Regions from separate parts of the Homo sapiens genome. Here region 2 is linked to region 1. The links are contacts of gene promoters, found by promoter capture Hi-C in blood cells and fetal thymus (Javierre and others, 2016). All regions are on one chromosome and are shown on one strand. Each heading gives the region's core, a stretch centred on a gene start or on the middle of the fragment in contact. The rest is flanking DNA. Distances are from core to core; before and after follow the strand shown. Region 1 holds the start of AREL1 (apoptosis resistant E3 ubiquitin protein ligase 1). Region 2 overlaps TMED10 (transmembrane p24 trafficking protein 10).

The links. The method cuts DNA at HindIII sites, captures the fragments that hold promoters and counts their contacts. A CHiCAGO score of 5 or more calls a contact.
Region 2: a contact is called between a fragment that was not itself captured here and the fragment with the promoter of AREL1 in region 1, in 1 of 17 cell types (fetal thymus). The highest score is 5.6, in fetal thymus.

Annotation. Positions count from the first base shown.
Region 1 is chr14:74,707,929-74,715,750 of GRCh38, reverse strand. It overlaps AREL1 (apoptosis resistant E3 ubiquitin protein ligase 1), which reads left to right and starts at 2,671. Exons shown (of 20, transcript NM_001039479.2): 1 at 2,671-2,818. FCF1 (FCF1 rRNA-processing protein) reads right to left here and starts at 2,607. Exons shown (of 8, transcript NM_015962.5): 1 at 2,551-2,607; 2 at 2,199-2,266; 3 at 808-879. The coding sequence starts at 2,553. RefSeq lists an enhancer at 2,494-2,773. The HindIII fragment of the contact is 16,377 bases long and covers 1-3,156 here.
Region 2 is chr14:75,127,020-75,134,841 of GRCh38, reverse strand. It overlaps TMED10 (transmembrane p24 trafficking protein 10), which reads left to right. Exons shown (of 5, transcript NM_006827.6): 5 at 1-3,373. NEK9 (NIMA related kinase 9) reads left to right here and starts at 7,794. Exons shown (of 22, transcript NM_033116.6): 1 at 7,794-7,822. RefSeq lists an enhancer at 7,741-7,822. The HindIII fragment of the contact is 170 bases long and covers 2,959-3,128 here.

The DNA.
Region 1 (7,822 bases), core at 1,422-3,921:
CAACTTTAAAAAAGCAATTATCAAAAACAAACAAACAAAAAAAGCAATTATCCAATCTAGCTCTTCCTCTAGCAAAAGTAGAATCACCATGGGCACAGGGAGGTAGAATACAGTTATCGTGATTAGAATGATACAACAACACGTTTGTCATTCTTAAAGGATTCTAAAACTGCTGTTATGGAATGTGATAGAGAACAGTTTGTCTAGTGTTAGGATTATATACTACAGCAGGACCTGTATCACATCTAGCCCAAGTTGTCTGGGTTGAATATGACAGTGATTCCAAATGCTAGGCCATGGATCAGTATCTACCTGTGATAATATGTCCATTACCAATCCAGGGAAAAATTAGAAAAATAAGGAAAATGTGGTAAAGTTTTCATAAAGTTAAATGTACTTACTTAAAAGGAATGAAATACCTTTATATCTTTATATAAAGGTCATATCTTTATATAAATATCTTTATTCTGAAAATATATTTTAAATATTTTTTGGTGATACAGTCTCTCTTTTATGAACTGCTGGTGTGTTAAACAATGGCACTTATGTCTCTTAAAAGATCCCTGGCAAAGAAAAAGTTAATAATCCTAGATAATATCTCCAGGATTTTAGGGGAAATTTTACTGCTCCATAAAATCCCAAAACCTTCAAACCACTAGAATTGATATATGCTCATCGATATGACTTTCATCTACATAGTTGTGCTAGACTTACTAACAAATAAGTTAGCAAACCAGCTCAGGGAAAGCCTGGATTTCTAAGAGGTCTATGGTTTTAAAGGAAAACTTCAAACGTTTGATTACTCACACTTCTCTTTCCTTTAATGCGCTGGGATCCTTCTTTTCTTTCTTTTTAGGTTTTAATCTATCCTTTTCTTTACTAGGAAGAAAAAGGTAAATTAAATCCAAGGGAGAAGAAAAACCACAGCAATTAAAATCTCAAAAATCTAAAGTTCCATTTTTTTTTTTTTTTGGTCTACTGAAGAAATCCTACTTTGTGATATCCTCATGTTAATATCAGCATACTCTTTCTGAGCAAATAACTCTAGTGCAAAGCACAGTACCTGGAAGTATCAGAATTAACCAGTAATGCCAATAATGCATAAGAATTGTTAATGAGTAAATAAAAGCTGATTATACTATATTTATTTTTTAGTCAGAATCTCTCACATCAAGGATCACAATCCACTTCCAAGCAATGGGTAAAAGGGTGACAGTTATCTTCTGAAGATTCAGATGCTTTAACTTTTGGGGGAAAAGTATTACCCCATATGCTTCTTATAAAGGGCTAAAATGTAAAAACGCATATACAGAACTTAACCCTTAACTAGAAAGAAATTATTATTAATGGAGTGTCATTCCTAAAAATTACACAATACATCCACACTAAAGGCTGAGAATAATAATTCTGAAGGTTTTAACGACTATTCTCTTATTCTGAGACTCTTTTTTGTATTTTTAGTGGAGACAGGGTTTCACCGTGTTGGCCAGGCTGGTTTTGAACTCCTCACCTCAGGTGATCCACCCGCCTCAGCCTCCCAAAGTGCTGGGATTACAGGCGTGAGCCACTGCGCCCGGCTTTCTGAGACTCTTAAACTCAGTGAAGATCAGTCTTTATTTAATAGCTATGCTTATTCTACACTTAAGCAGGGACACCGCTTTGATCCTCTTCATACTAGGGAATTTCACTTCACTTTCTTCTTCCACAGTGATTTGGATTCTTATATTAGTAAGACTTATAAAATGGAGATATCTTGGAGTTTTCCCATTTTCTCTGACAAAAATATTTGAGTACCAGGCACTGGAAACGCCAGACAAACAAGGTCTCTAACCTTGCCATCTTTCAACAAGAAACACTCCCCTCGCCCCACCCCAGGGGAATGTAGTAGTGTAATGGTAAAAACATAAAGAGAACTATACGGACTTCACCGAACTGACATGAGGTTTAAATGCGATATGGCAGACAAAGCATATAACGGTAGAAAAAGTGAACACTTAAGAAATGTTTAATTCCCATCGCCTTTCCCAGTGTGATCGCTCAGCAGCTAAATTACTGTTAAACACTGGCTATCTCATGCTATATAAATCTAAGACACGATAATAAGCAAAAAACAAAATAATAACAACAAACATTTTTACTACTTATCCTCTCTAGACTCTTATTAGAATATCCCTGGGCAGTTGATTCCAGACACTCACAGCCTCTGATCTCTGAGACTAAGCATTCGCTTCATGGTCGCATACTTCCTTGTTTTCTTTTGCTTCCCCTTGAAACAGAAATTTTAGAATTAAAAAAGTTGGAAACACACGGCATCTTTTAAAGTCTCTTCTTTTCTCTTGTCTATTGCCTTCCCTTCTTGCCTCAAATAACCCAGACCCTCTTCCCCACTCTGTAAAGCATAACAGTCACCGCTTGGAGAAGTTTAAGAGCTAAGACCAGAATGAAAATATGCTAGGATAATGTGAAGGAAATTTGGCCACGGTCTGACTACCTCCTTCTCCACCCAAAAAGTGGCCTGATAACGTCCCTTCTTGGACCGTCTTCTCTCACCATGGTCACGCCAAACTCCTGGTTCTTCCGTAATCACCAACGGCGCAATACTTCTACGTCATTCACATACTGCTTCCGGCAAAGGATAGCCCGGAAGCGGAAACTCCTTGGGGAAAGGGCAATCCCCCGAGCCGGTTCCCAGGCCGGGTGGAGACCAACTCTGGGGTCTGTTGGTGGGAGAGTGGGGAGCCCGTCTTCTGCTGAGTGCTGCCGCCCCTTCCCAGGACAGCGGAGGTGGAACTTCGTCGCGCTGCAACCCCCGGCTCGGGTAACGTTTCTCTCCAGCCTTAGGCAGAGCCCAGAAGACCTGCCTTTACCAGAGTTCCAGAGAGAGAGGGAGGAAAAGGGTAGGGGGGTTCAGACTCCTGGTTTGCCCAGTAGTTTGGGGGAACACATTCTCCTCACCCTGTAGCGTTGGGGTATCCGGTGTCTATGGTCCAGCCCTGAGGCTGTGGTTCCTATTTGGTTTTCCTAGCCGATATGGTGCTTTGTGCAGCTAGGTGGATGATTGTTCTCGAGTATATACCGTGTACTCCTCTCGGTGAAGAGAGAAATGAAGCAGTGTTTGAGGGCCTAGACTATCGCTAGAGAATTGGGGCATAAGCTTGCATATGTTACTACTTACCCAAGCCAAGAAAATGGTGAGATACAATGCACATTTATTGTGAAGCCTTGGTGTGTCATCTTTAAGTAAAAAGGGAGAATTTGTGAGAACAAGGAGCGAAAGGTAGCTTTTTTCTTTGAGTACCTGCTATGTATTCCAGTGGTTCTTAACTTTTTGGAGATAACTTATTTCTTGAAAGTTTGTGGAAAGCCAGGAACAATTCTTTAAAAAATGGGCACACATACAGTTTGTAATACACTTAATGAGATTGGTGGACTCTGAAGCCCATCCGTGGACCCTCTGGGTGTCTGTAAACTTTAAATGAAAACCCCCATCCTGTATACTGTACTTGTCACTTTATTCATATTACCTTCTTTGACCTTCTCAATAACATAAATTCTTTTATTTTACATATGGGGAAATTGAGCCCCAGACTTTGTTCAGGGGTCTGTTTGAGTCTCGTGATTCCAAAGTCTGTACTTGTATTTCTTTTTTTCTTTTTCTTTCTTTCTTTCTTTCTTTTTTTTTCTTTTTTTTTTTTTTTTTTTTTTTTTTTTTGCACTTTGTCTTCCATTCTCCAGCTACTGATCAAGCTGGGAACGGAATGGGTACCTCTGTCATACTTTTCTTATTGCATGATGCTATCCTAGAGTTGGAAGTAAAATATGTTATCAGGTTTAAAAAAGAAGGTGACCATTGTATAACCCTTATGATGAAAACACGTTTATTGTTTAACACGAACTTTGGAGTCTGACTGATGGGGTTAAAATCCTTGCTCTGCCTTATAACTCGCCATGACATTGGGTGAGTTAATCTATCTGCATCTCAGTTTCTTTATCTGTAAAATGGAGATAATCATAGTAGCACTCTTTTATTGGGATGTTATCAGGACTTATGTTTATTCATAGTTAACATGCGAGGTCCCTAGAAGAGTGTAAACCAGACTACTCAGAGTGTTTTCTGTTGTTACCATTGTGTGTCTTCCAACTTGAGGATGTGTGGCAGGGTTGGAATTTTATGCCAATTTTATTTTATTTTATTTTATTTTATTTTTGAGACAGAGCCTCCCTCTGCTGCCCAGGTTGGAGTGCAGTGGCGCAATCTCGGCTCACAGCAACCTCCCCCTCCCAGGTTCAAGCAATTCTCCTGCCTCAGCCTCCCGAGTAGCTGGGACTGCAGGCATGTGTGTGCCACCATACCTTGCTAATTTTTGTATTTTTAATAGAGATGGGTTTCACCATGTTGGCAAGGCTGGTCTCAAACTCCTGACCTCAGGTGATCTGCCCACCTCGGCCTCCCAAAGTTCTGGGATTACAGACGTGAGCCACTGTGCCAAGCCCCAATTTTTTTTTTTTTTTTTTGAGACGGAGTTAGTTTCGCTCTTGTTACCCAGGCTGGAGTGCAATGGCGCAATCTCGGCTCACTGCAACCTCCACCTCCCAGGTTTAAGCGATTCTCCTGCCTCAGCCTCCTGAGTAGCTGGGATTACAGGCGTGCGCCAACACGCCTGGCTGATTTTATATTTTTAGTAGAGACGGGGTTTCTCCATGTTGGTCAGACTGGTCTTGAACTCCCGACCTCAGGTGATCCGCCCACCTTGGCCTCCCAAAGTGCTGGGATTACAGGCGTGAGCCACCGTGCCTGGCACCAGCCCAATTTTATTTTAACATAGTTGCACTGGAACTTGAACGTGTTCATAAACCTCAAAACATTAAGTTTTCAGGTCCTGGGATGCTCAATCGCAGGGTGATTTCTTCTGTTGATTTGGGTGTAAACTTTTTCTGCTTCTCCTTTCTCTTTCAGGCACACATTCATTTAGATGGCTTAATAGTTTACATATCTGTGGGCACTGAATTTTTGATGTAGAAATGGTAGCTACAGATACTGTATGTGCCTTCTGCTTTACCCCATTTGTGGTCACTAGAAGTTCCTAATCTTTCTGGAGCAGCTTGTCTCTGTCAAGCTGCCATTCATGTGTAGAGCTAATAGCAACCAGTTTTTTGATGTATCTCTTGGTGATTAGACAATAAGCTTTTTATTGTCTAAAAGCTAAAATAACATGGTCAGTTATTCTTCTTAAACATTTGACTCATTAGTATTATATATAGGTTCAGAGGGAAAATTGCATATCATTAAATAGTAATTTGCATTTAAATTTAGGCACTGACAGAAAAACGCTCTTCTGGTAATGTGTACTTTGAATTTTGGAATCCATGAACAACAACAACTTAAAAAAAGGCCATTTGTAATTTCTATTGTAACCTCTATTGAGAGTGTTCTGATTTCCTTGATTGTTAATACCTAATAGGGAGCTAAATTAGTGTAGGAACACCATGGGGGATAAGAACATACTTAGAAAAATTTGTTTTTGTTGCATTGTAATTTTATTGCAATCTGAGGTTCTTATAGCGTGAAATGAAAGTGGTCAGATACTCTACAGCATTCTTTGATGGGGATGGAAAGTGGGGGATGCGAAGCTGGGAGGTAGTGTTGATTTGTGATGGATGGGAGCAGAAAGTAATTGCTTTTGGGCACATACTTGTGAGGAAAAGAAATGATTTTAGTCCTTCTCAGCAGTCAAGAGGGTTGTTTTGCATTTTTCTGCAGTCTTGAAGAGAAAAAATCACCCAAGGCATTGGACACACAGTTTGAACACATAATTGGGCTTGGACTTCATTCCATTCACTAATTGGTCTAACTTACTAATTTAAGTTGGTATCAAATTTCTTTGTAAAATTATTCTGGATAATGAAAGACTCCTTAAAGAACATCTTGTATTTCAATGTTAGAAAGTTATAAGTAGATTCACTTTTTTGTCCATTTTCAAGTTATAGTTTTTACATTTATTTTTCTGACTTACATGATAGGACTTTTTTTCTCCCAACAAACATTAGTCGCTGTTAATTATTTTTCAATTAACTTGCCTGCCCCTAAATGTGGTAGCATGGCATACAGCATGTTCTGCTTCTGAGGTCTTGATATTGAATTGGTTTGTAAGAATACCTCAGAGATAGATTACTGCCGCTTGGTCATTCATTCAGAAAGCATTTATTGAGGGCCCATTCTGTCCTGGGCAATCTCACCACAGTCCTGTATTACAGAAAGACTTGTAAATAGGTAAAGTATGGTTGGTGGCTGAATAGAGATGTGGGAGTTGAAATATTTTAGAGGAATTACTCTTCTTGTTCATCTTTCTGTAAGTGGTCCAGGTCAGAGTACTGTTGTGTAATATTTATTTAATACTATCAACATATTAGTACCATGTAATAGATCAGATTTTATGACCTTAATGGACTCTAGTGTATCATTTTACCTTTTATTTATTATTTATTAGATCTTGCTATGTTGCCCAGGCTGATCTTGAACTCCTGGCCTCAAGCCATCCTCCCACCTCAGCTTCCTGAGTAGCTGGGAGAAGAGGCATGAGCCACTGTGCCTGACCGTTTTACCTTTTAAATGACTTTAGCTATTAACTAACTTGGGTTTAAATTTCAGTTATTTTTCTTTGGTTTCTTTTTCTTTGAAGGGTTCTGAATGCTTAGCCTTCACTAATGTTCTTTCATATAGTAGTTTTCAAACTTTTGAGGTTGTTTAACCTTATTGCAGTTTGTGTGTATGTATGTGTGTGTACACACACGCATGCCTGAGCTGTTGATATGGTGTTACAGCACCATAGTGATGTTTTCCTGGTGGCTCTTTTGAAGACTGTTCTACAAGATAGGGTTTATAGAGAAAGATGGGTATTCACTTAGCTATTAGAAACTAAATAGTCATGGTAGATACATGTTTTGTCATTTAGTCTAATTGAACGGTTCCATATGATTTTATGAGTTTTTGTTATCTTGAATAGTTGAGCAATTTGCATCATGTTTTTCAGAGCGAAGGCATTTATTTCAGTGCAGCTTGTTACTGTTGAGATGCCAATAGTTAACATCTGTTAATTGATTTTCTATATATTGTACTTTTTGGCCAGAGATTAGATAATTTATTAATATACAACATATTTTCTGTAATGTCCCCTTGCTTTTATCCAGAGACCCAGAGCATGTTATTTTAACCCCTCTCTTGTCCGCTTTGGGAAGTTCAAATTCAAGGTACCCCCGGTATATATGGTAAACCTATTAGGAACAGAAAACAGTTAAAACTTCCCAAGTGTGATCTAGTTTTTCATGTCTTGGTAAAGAAGAAATCCCAGGTGGGCTGTGCAAACAGTTCATAGAAAGGGGTTAAAAAAGATATTTAAAAAGTTTTAGGCTGGCATTACCTGAATTGGGGCAATGATTAGGGAGACATGATTAGAATTCTAAGGGGGAGTGAGAATGTAAAGGGGAGCACCATCTGTAATTAAATTGTTTTAAATTGTGGAATAATTTTAAATTTATAAAAAAGTTGCAAAGATAGTACAGAGTATTCCTGTATACCTTTCACCGGTGTCTCCTAATGTTAACTTCTTACATAACCATGGCACATACTGTCACATCTAAGAAATTAACATTGGTACAATACTATTACTAAACTATAGACTTTATTTGGATTTCACAAGTTTCTCCACTAATTTCCTTTTTCTATACCCAAACTGAATCTAGAATACCACATTCCAGTTAGATCATGTGTAATTTCTTTTTTTTTTTTTTTTTCTGAGGCGAAGGTCTCACTCTGTCGCCCAGG
Region 2 (7,822 bases), core at 1,794-4,293, 420 kb before region 1:
GAACATCGCTGGGACGTGCCTGGCCTAAGGCATCCTACCAACAGCACCATCAAGGCACGTTGGAGCTTTCTTGCCAGAACTGATCTCTTTTGGTGTGGGAGGACATGGGGTACCACCTACACCCAACAAGTCAATGAGGGACTTCTTTTTAATTTGGTAGGATTTTGACTGGTTTTGCAACAATAGGTCTATTATTAGAGTCACCTATGACAAAAAATAGGGGTTACCTAGATAATGCCAAAGTCAGCATTTGTCCTGGGTTCCCTTGTGTGATCTGTTTGGACTATGTTTTCTTTTCTTCTCCCACTTGCTCAGCAGCTTGGGCTTCCATTCTAGTTCTTTTACCAAGATTTTTGTGTGACCATGTTGACTTCATTTGGATTGCCCTCTTTCAATTTCCTTGTGAAAACACCCTTAACTTTCTCTTTACCCTTAGCTGAAATGTTTACATAGCTTCTGGTGATATCTTTTCATGATTTTATATCTCTTAAAATGGTGATGGATGTGACACCTCATAAAAGTGAGCTTTGAACTGTAGATAACTCTTAAAGAAAATGTCATTTTAGACAATTAAAATATTTGTGCTCAACTGCTTGAACTTTTTTCGTGTATGTGTATTTAATTCTATGCAATATTATCACATGTGTAGATTCATGTGACCACCATCACAAGAGACAGAACAGTTCTGTCACATGGATCCCTTGCACTGCCCTTTTACAGCCGCAGCCACATCCCTTTCTTATACCCTCACCCCAACCTGTGGCTACCACTGTTCTGTCCTCCATCTCTGTAATTTTGTCATTTCAAGAATGTTGTATGAATGGAATCATACAGAATGTAATCTTACGAGGCTGATCTTTTTTCATTCAGCATAATTCCCTTGAAATCCATCCAAGTTGTTGCATGTATGAATAGTTTCTTCCTTTTTTTCTTTTAAAAATGTTTTATATATTTAGGGGGTATAAGTACAGATTTCTTACATGCATATATTGCATCGTGGTGAAGTGGGGGCAGTTCCTTTTGATTGCTGAGTAGTATTCCATGGTATGGATGTACCACAGTTTGCTTAACCATTCACCCACTAAAGGACATAAGAGTTGTTTTCAGTTTTTTGCCCTAATAAAGCTGCTGTGAACATTCATGTACAGGTTTTTATGTGAACATACATTTTCATTTTCTGGGATAAATGCTCAAAAGGGCAACTGTTGGGTTGTATGGTAAACACATATATTTTTGTAAGAAACTACCCTACTCTTTTTCCAGAGTGGCTCTACTTTTTACATACAGCCACTCATACAATTCAGACAGCAATGTATGATTGATCCAGTTTCTTCACATCCTCACCAGCATTTGGTATTACTACTATTTTTTATCTTAACCATTCACATAGATGTGTGTAATGATACCACATGTGGTTTTAATTTGCATTTCCAATGGCTAATGATGTTGAGTATCTTTTTGTGTGCTAATTTGCCATCTATGTATCCTCTTCGGTGAAATGTCTTCATGTCTTTTGTCTATTTTCTATTTAGGTCATTTGTTCTTTTTACTATTGAGTTTTGAGAGGTTTTTTATATATCCTAGATAAAATTCCTCTGTTAGATATGTGGTTGCTTGAATTTTTAACATAACTTCTACCAAGGAAAAATAAGTAAAATTTCCAACCCTTGCATGGCCAGTCACTTACTTAATTCCTGTCCTTCAGTGTTCCATCTAGAGAATTAAGAGATATGATGTATAAAATAGACATCGAGGGCCATTAAGAGAGTAAATACTTAAAAATACATGTTATGAAAGCAAAGCCAATAATCACTGTAGGAGTATGAGTTGCCTAAGGGCCAAAACTAATGTAAATAAGAGAAAGTGTGGATATAAATGACCATTGTTTATAAACAGTTATGAAAAATGCTGTGACTTGAAATCTTTCCCACATCTCCCAAGAAAGTAGGTAGGAGTTTATCCTTTCCGTAATCTCTTTTTAACCCTGCTGACTATTACAGGGCTTGTTTAATCACAGTGGCAAGAATTACATGTATCTTACAGTAAAGAAACAGAATACTGGAATCGTTAGAGAACCCTGATGTGTTGACCTGGATAAAGTACAAAGGTGGAAGAGGGAATGAGTTATGCTGTTAAAATCTCAGGCTATTCTGTTAATGTTCCTGCTACTATGAACCCAAACTTTTTTTTTCCCCCTTTTGACTCCTTGTGTCTTCCTCTCCTGTGGCATAAAAGTAGTTCTGTCGTTAACTTGTACAACATTGCCATCTGCTGTTGAGAATTGGTAGGTACTGCTTCTGAGAACCTGGCTGCAGATCCTTAGCATAGGCAGCAAATGTTGAGAAAGTCTATCTGTAGTATTACATATACTAAGTTACAGAGGATGCATCCAAGTAGAGAAAATAATATGTGGGTTAAGATACATCCTTAAACTTTTTTTTTTTTGGGGGGGGGGGGACGGAGTCTTGCTGCAACGCCCAGGCTGGAGTGCAATGGCACTATCTCAGCTCGCTGCAACCTTCACCTCCTGGGTTCAAGCAATTCTCCTGCCTCAGCCTCCTGAGTAGCTGGGAATATAGGTGCACACCACCATGCCTGGCTAATTTTTGTATTTTCAGTAGAAGCAGAGTTTCACCATATTGGCCAGGTTGGTCTCGAACTCCTGACCTCAAGTGATCTGCCTGCCTCAGCCTCCCAAAGTGCTGGGATTACACGCGTGAGCCACCACACCCAGCCTCCATCTTTAAACTTTTAAATGTGAAATTTCTATCATGTACCGTTAGCCTAACAAGATTTTCTTTCCTATTTCTGACTGGTGCCTTTCCCCTTTTTAGGAGCAACGAAAGCTACTCTCTTAGTTATGTTCTTGTGATGTGACAAAATGTCAAGAAGATAGGAGAAGAGAATATTTTATTTCGTTGATGCTTTTGTTCCCAAGTGTGACCCTAAACTTAAGCTTTGTAGGAGTTGACATTCTTTCATGTCCCTTCCCTTTACTCATGCCGAAACTATCAACTGGGACATTTTGTGCTTTTGGTTTAAAAGTTAATTGATATTATACTTTGGTTTTATCTAAAAAGTAAATGTATTTGCCTTTGACAAAAGACTGACACAAGAGCAAATAAGCTTTAAAATCGGGTGTTATGTGCTTTCCTCCATTTTTGAGCATATTATCCAAAATGGTCTGTATAATATAAATGAGAATGATGCAGTTTAAGTAAGCCTTGTTATACCATTGTCATGGACCCCTGTCATAAAGCCATTTCTTGGTTTGTTTGGGAAAGAGGCATATGGGATTTATACAGATTCACTTGTAAATGTTGGATTGGGGATTTTTGTGTAAATTTTCTCAAATAAAGGCTAGCAGAAACCATTTTAGGTGTACTGTTACTCTTGAGTACTTCTATGTCTGGATTGGTGATAATTCTTCCATATTTCTCTTTTAAATTATGGCAAATTATACCTGATGAATTAGAGAAAAAATATTGTTATTCTTCAGTTACTGCAGATCGATAGTTTATATGAGCTAGTAAAAGATTATCATATTTTGTATGTAATATATGTAAATTATATATATATATATAATTAAGAATCCTTAATTATGCATCCTCAGACCAAATATGGTTCTGTAAGCTAGGCATTTTATTCTCTTTATCTTCTCTCTTTTGGAAACTGTTACTATTAGGTTCGCACAAAAGTAATTGTGGTTTTTGCAATTAAAATTGCAATTGCATAGAATCACTCCTACAGAGAGCCATCTCCCCTGCCTTTCATTCCTAAAAGACCCCCACCCCCCACCCCCGGTATATGAATCCTCAGGACTCACTTTTTAGGCCTATCATATCCAATGCAAAACCCCACTCCAGGAGGTAAACGTCTTTTCTCCTCTCCTTTCACTTACAGTTGAACATTTTTCACAAAGCGACTTTCCAAGAGCCAATATGAAGTGCTTTGCACACCCACTGGCTGGCCTCTTATTTATCCTCTTATCTCCATTCTCCCTCAAATAAATTTTATTATGAATCCATAGTGTGTAAAGTAGTGGTTCCCATTATTGGGGTATAATTTTTTTTTCTTTTCTTTTTTTTTTTTTTTGAGACGGAGTTCACTCTTGTTGCCCAGGCTGGAGTACAATGGCATGATCTCGGCTCACCACAACCTCCGCCTTCCGGGTTCAAGCAATTCTCCTGCCTCAGCCTCCCGAGTAGCTGGGATTACAGGCATGTACCAGCACGCCCAGCTAATTTTGTATTTTTAGTAGAGATGGAGTTTCATTATGTTGGCCAGGCTGGTCTTGAACTCCCAACCTCGTGATCCACCCACCTCAGCCTCCCAAAGTGCTGGGATTACAGGCGTGAGCCACCGTGCCCGGCCCAATACATGCTTTATAAATCATTTATTTAGTCTGCTGCAGTGGTGTCTCATAAAATGTTGAGCTGCATGTATAATTTTAAATTTTCTAGTATCACATTAAAGAAGTAAAAAACAGGTAAAATTTGCTGATTCTCCAGCCTCCCGAGTAGCTGGGATTACAGGCACATGCCACCACGCCCAGGTAATTTTTGTATTTTTAGTAGAGATGGGGTTTCACCATGTTGGCCAGGATGGTCTCGAACTCCTGACCTCGTGGTCTGCTCACCTTGGCCTCCCAAAGTGCTGGAATTATAGGCATCAGCCACTGTGCCCAGCCGAAAATTATTTTTAGTAGTGTATTTAACCTAATATACCCAAAATATTATTTCAACATATAGTTAATATAAAAATGGTTAATGAGATGTTTTGCATTCCATTTTTCATATAAAATCTTGAAAATCCAGTGTGCATTTCAAGCTATACCGCATCTATAGCTTAAAATTAGACTAGCCACAATTCAAGTGTTGAGTAGCTATATGTAGCTAATGGCTACCGTGGCAGACAGTGAAGGGTATAAACTTGGGTTGGTCTTTGGTAGATTCTTTCATCTTGACAGTAACTCTATGGCCCCTGGGAATTTGCCATTCACAAATTGGAAACTAATGCAAAATAGCATTCTAACCATTCACTTGTTAAAGTACAATGTGGAAATAGTTTGGTTTCAACCAAAGGCGCTTTAAAATTTTACACCTTGGCCAGGTGCAGTGGCTCACACCTGTAATCCCAACACTTTAGCAGGCCAATCACTTGAGGTCAGGAGTTCGAGAACCAGCCTGGCCAACATGGCAGAATGCCCTCTCTACTAAAAATACAAAAATTAGCTGGGCATGGTGGCGGACGCTTGTAATCCCAGCTACTCAGGAGACTGAGGCATGAGAATCACTTGAACTTGGGAGGTGGAGGCTGCAGTGTGCTGAGATCATGCCACTGCACTCCATCCTGAGTGACAGAGTGAGACTGTCTCCAAAAAAAAAAAAAAAGTTATACCATTAGAATAAATGTTGACTATTTTTGAACTTATAAATATTCAAAGGTAAGACAATTAGTTTCAGTTATATCCAATATAATGAAGAATTCAGCAGGAATGTCTCTGCTCTATAATAGGACATGTTTCTTCTAGGCTTGTAGTATCTATGCATTATCATTAGAACAATTCAGTTTCAGGCCAACCACGTTATAGAAAACTAGTTCCTCGTTGCAAAGGTGCCAGAAAAAAATGAATTTTTAAGCTTAGGCTGAAATCTATTCAGCCTCTTTGAAAGTCAGCATTCCCAATTTTAAGTAATTGGTTTTTTCCCATTCAACTGAGAAACAATTTATTGAGCATCTTTTCTGTTTAACAGAGTTAATCGAGAATAACAGAATTAAGTTAATAGAATTAACAGATTTAAGCCAAACTAAACTCTGGAGTTTATCTAGATAAACAAGAGGCAATACCTATCCTCAAAGTGCCTTCTAATTAATAGGAGGATGTAGATGGAATGGCCTCTACCTGAAATGATCTCTCTACTTTGTTTAGACTTAACATTTTGTATATTCCTGCACTCACACAGCAAGTTTGGCTTGGACAGATGCCACTCCTAAATGCCTCTCTAGAATCTTGCACTTTAATAGCCCTTATAGAAACTGTTTTAATTGCCTGGTGGTTTTCTGTTACATGTAAGCTCTCTTAAAGTAGGAACTTTTCACAAATCGATATGACACAATGTATTTTTATGTATTTGAGACAGGTTCTCACTCTGTTGCCCAGGCTCGAGTGCAGTGGCATGATCTTGGCTCACCGCAACCTCCGCCTCCCCAGTTCAAGCAATTCTTGTGCCTCAGCGTCCCAAGTAGCTGGGATTACAGGTGTGTGCACGCCTGGCTAATTTTTGTATTTTTAGTGGACACGGGGTTTCACCATGTTGGCCAGGCTGAACTCGAACTCCAGGCTTCAAGTGATCGGCCCTCCCAAAGTGCTGGGATTACAAGTGTGAGCCACCACGCCCGGCTAGGCACATGGCTTTCTCTTAGCCCCATCACATCCTGCTTTTTCAGATTGCTGGGTTCAACTTCCCAGCTCCCTCTTACTAGGTCTGTCACATTAAGCAGGTTACTTAGGTACCTCTGTTTCTGTAAAATGGGAATGTTAGGATAATACATAATACATAATACATAGGATAATACATAATAATGTGAGATAATACGTAAAAAACCTTTAGCATAGTACCCAGAACATAACACTCAATAAATGTTAGCTGTTATGTCTGTGATGTAGACCACATTCTCACAACAAAACAAGCTTGGAGATGAGAAGTTGCCCAAGGTCACATAATTGCCCAAGGTCACATAACTGATGGAACACCTATTGTTCACCGTATTGCTGTTTTCCTACTTGACGGTAGGGAGAACATTATTGCAGATTTCCTGTTCCCAAACAGTGTGTGGCACCAAGTGCTCAAAGAATGTTTCATGATATCATATGGTCAAATATCTGGAAAAACACATAGAATAAATTGAATCTGGAAAAAGAGACGGGGGAGAAGGAAAGTGTCAGGAGAGTTGACTTAAAATATTTTTGGAGTTGTGTAGAAGAGGGAGGGACTTAGGATGGCCCTGGGAGAAAGAACTCGGCCCAGGGACCGAGATGACCGGAGGCAGACATTTAGGCTGTCTATATTATTATTATTTTTTTTTTTTTTGAGACAAAGTCTCGCTCTGTTATCCAGGCTGGAGTGTAGTGCGCGATCTCGGCTCGCTGCAACCTCCTCCTTCCGGGTTCAAGTGATTCACCTGCCTCAGCCTCTGGAGTAGCTGGGATTACAGGTGCCTGCCACCACGCCTGGCTAATTTTTGTATTTTATAGAGACGGGGTTTCACCAGTTGGTCAGGCTGGTCTCAAACGCCTGACCTCAGGTGATCCGCCCGCCTCGGCTTCCTAACATGCTGAGATTACAGGCGTGAGCCACCTTGCCCGGCCATATTATCTTTACTATACTATCTCTCTAAAAAAGAATGCTGTCCAACGTTGGAATGGGGAAGAAGGTGTACACTGGGAATGCTTCCCCAATCACCCTCTTGTCACAGACCTGACGTCAAGATGAGACTGGACGACCTCTGGGCCTCCAAGTTGTATGAGTCCGGACCGGGGAGGCAGAGAAGGGTCAATAGACCCGAGAGGCCGTACCGTCAGTGATGCCCTTGTTCCCGTGGGAGCCCTTCGGTTCCACGCGGTTCCCACCACGCGCCCGCCAACCCTAGCCCGAGGCCTCACTTTGCAGGCCTTCCCCGAAAGCGGGAAGCCTTGGCCGCTAGACTAGCCAAGAGGGTAAGCAAAGGCGGAGGAAACTCAGCCAGGCCGGAAACACAGAGAACTGTTTCCGGGTCGGGGGGCAGGAGCCACCATCGAGCTTCGCGGGGTTGCTGGGCT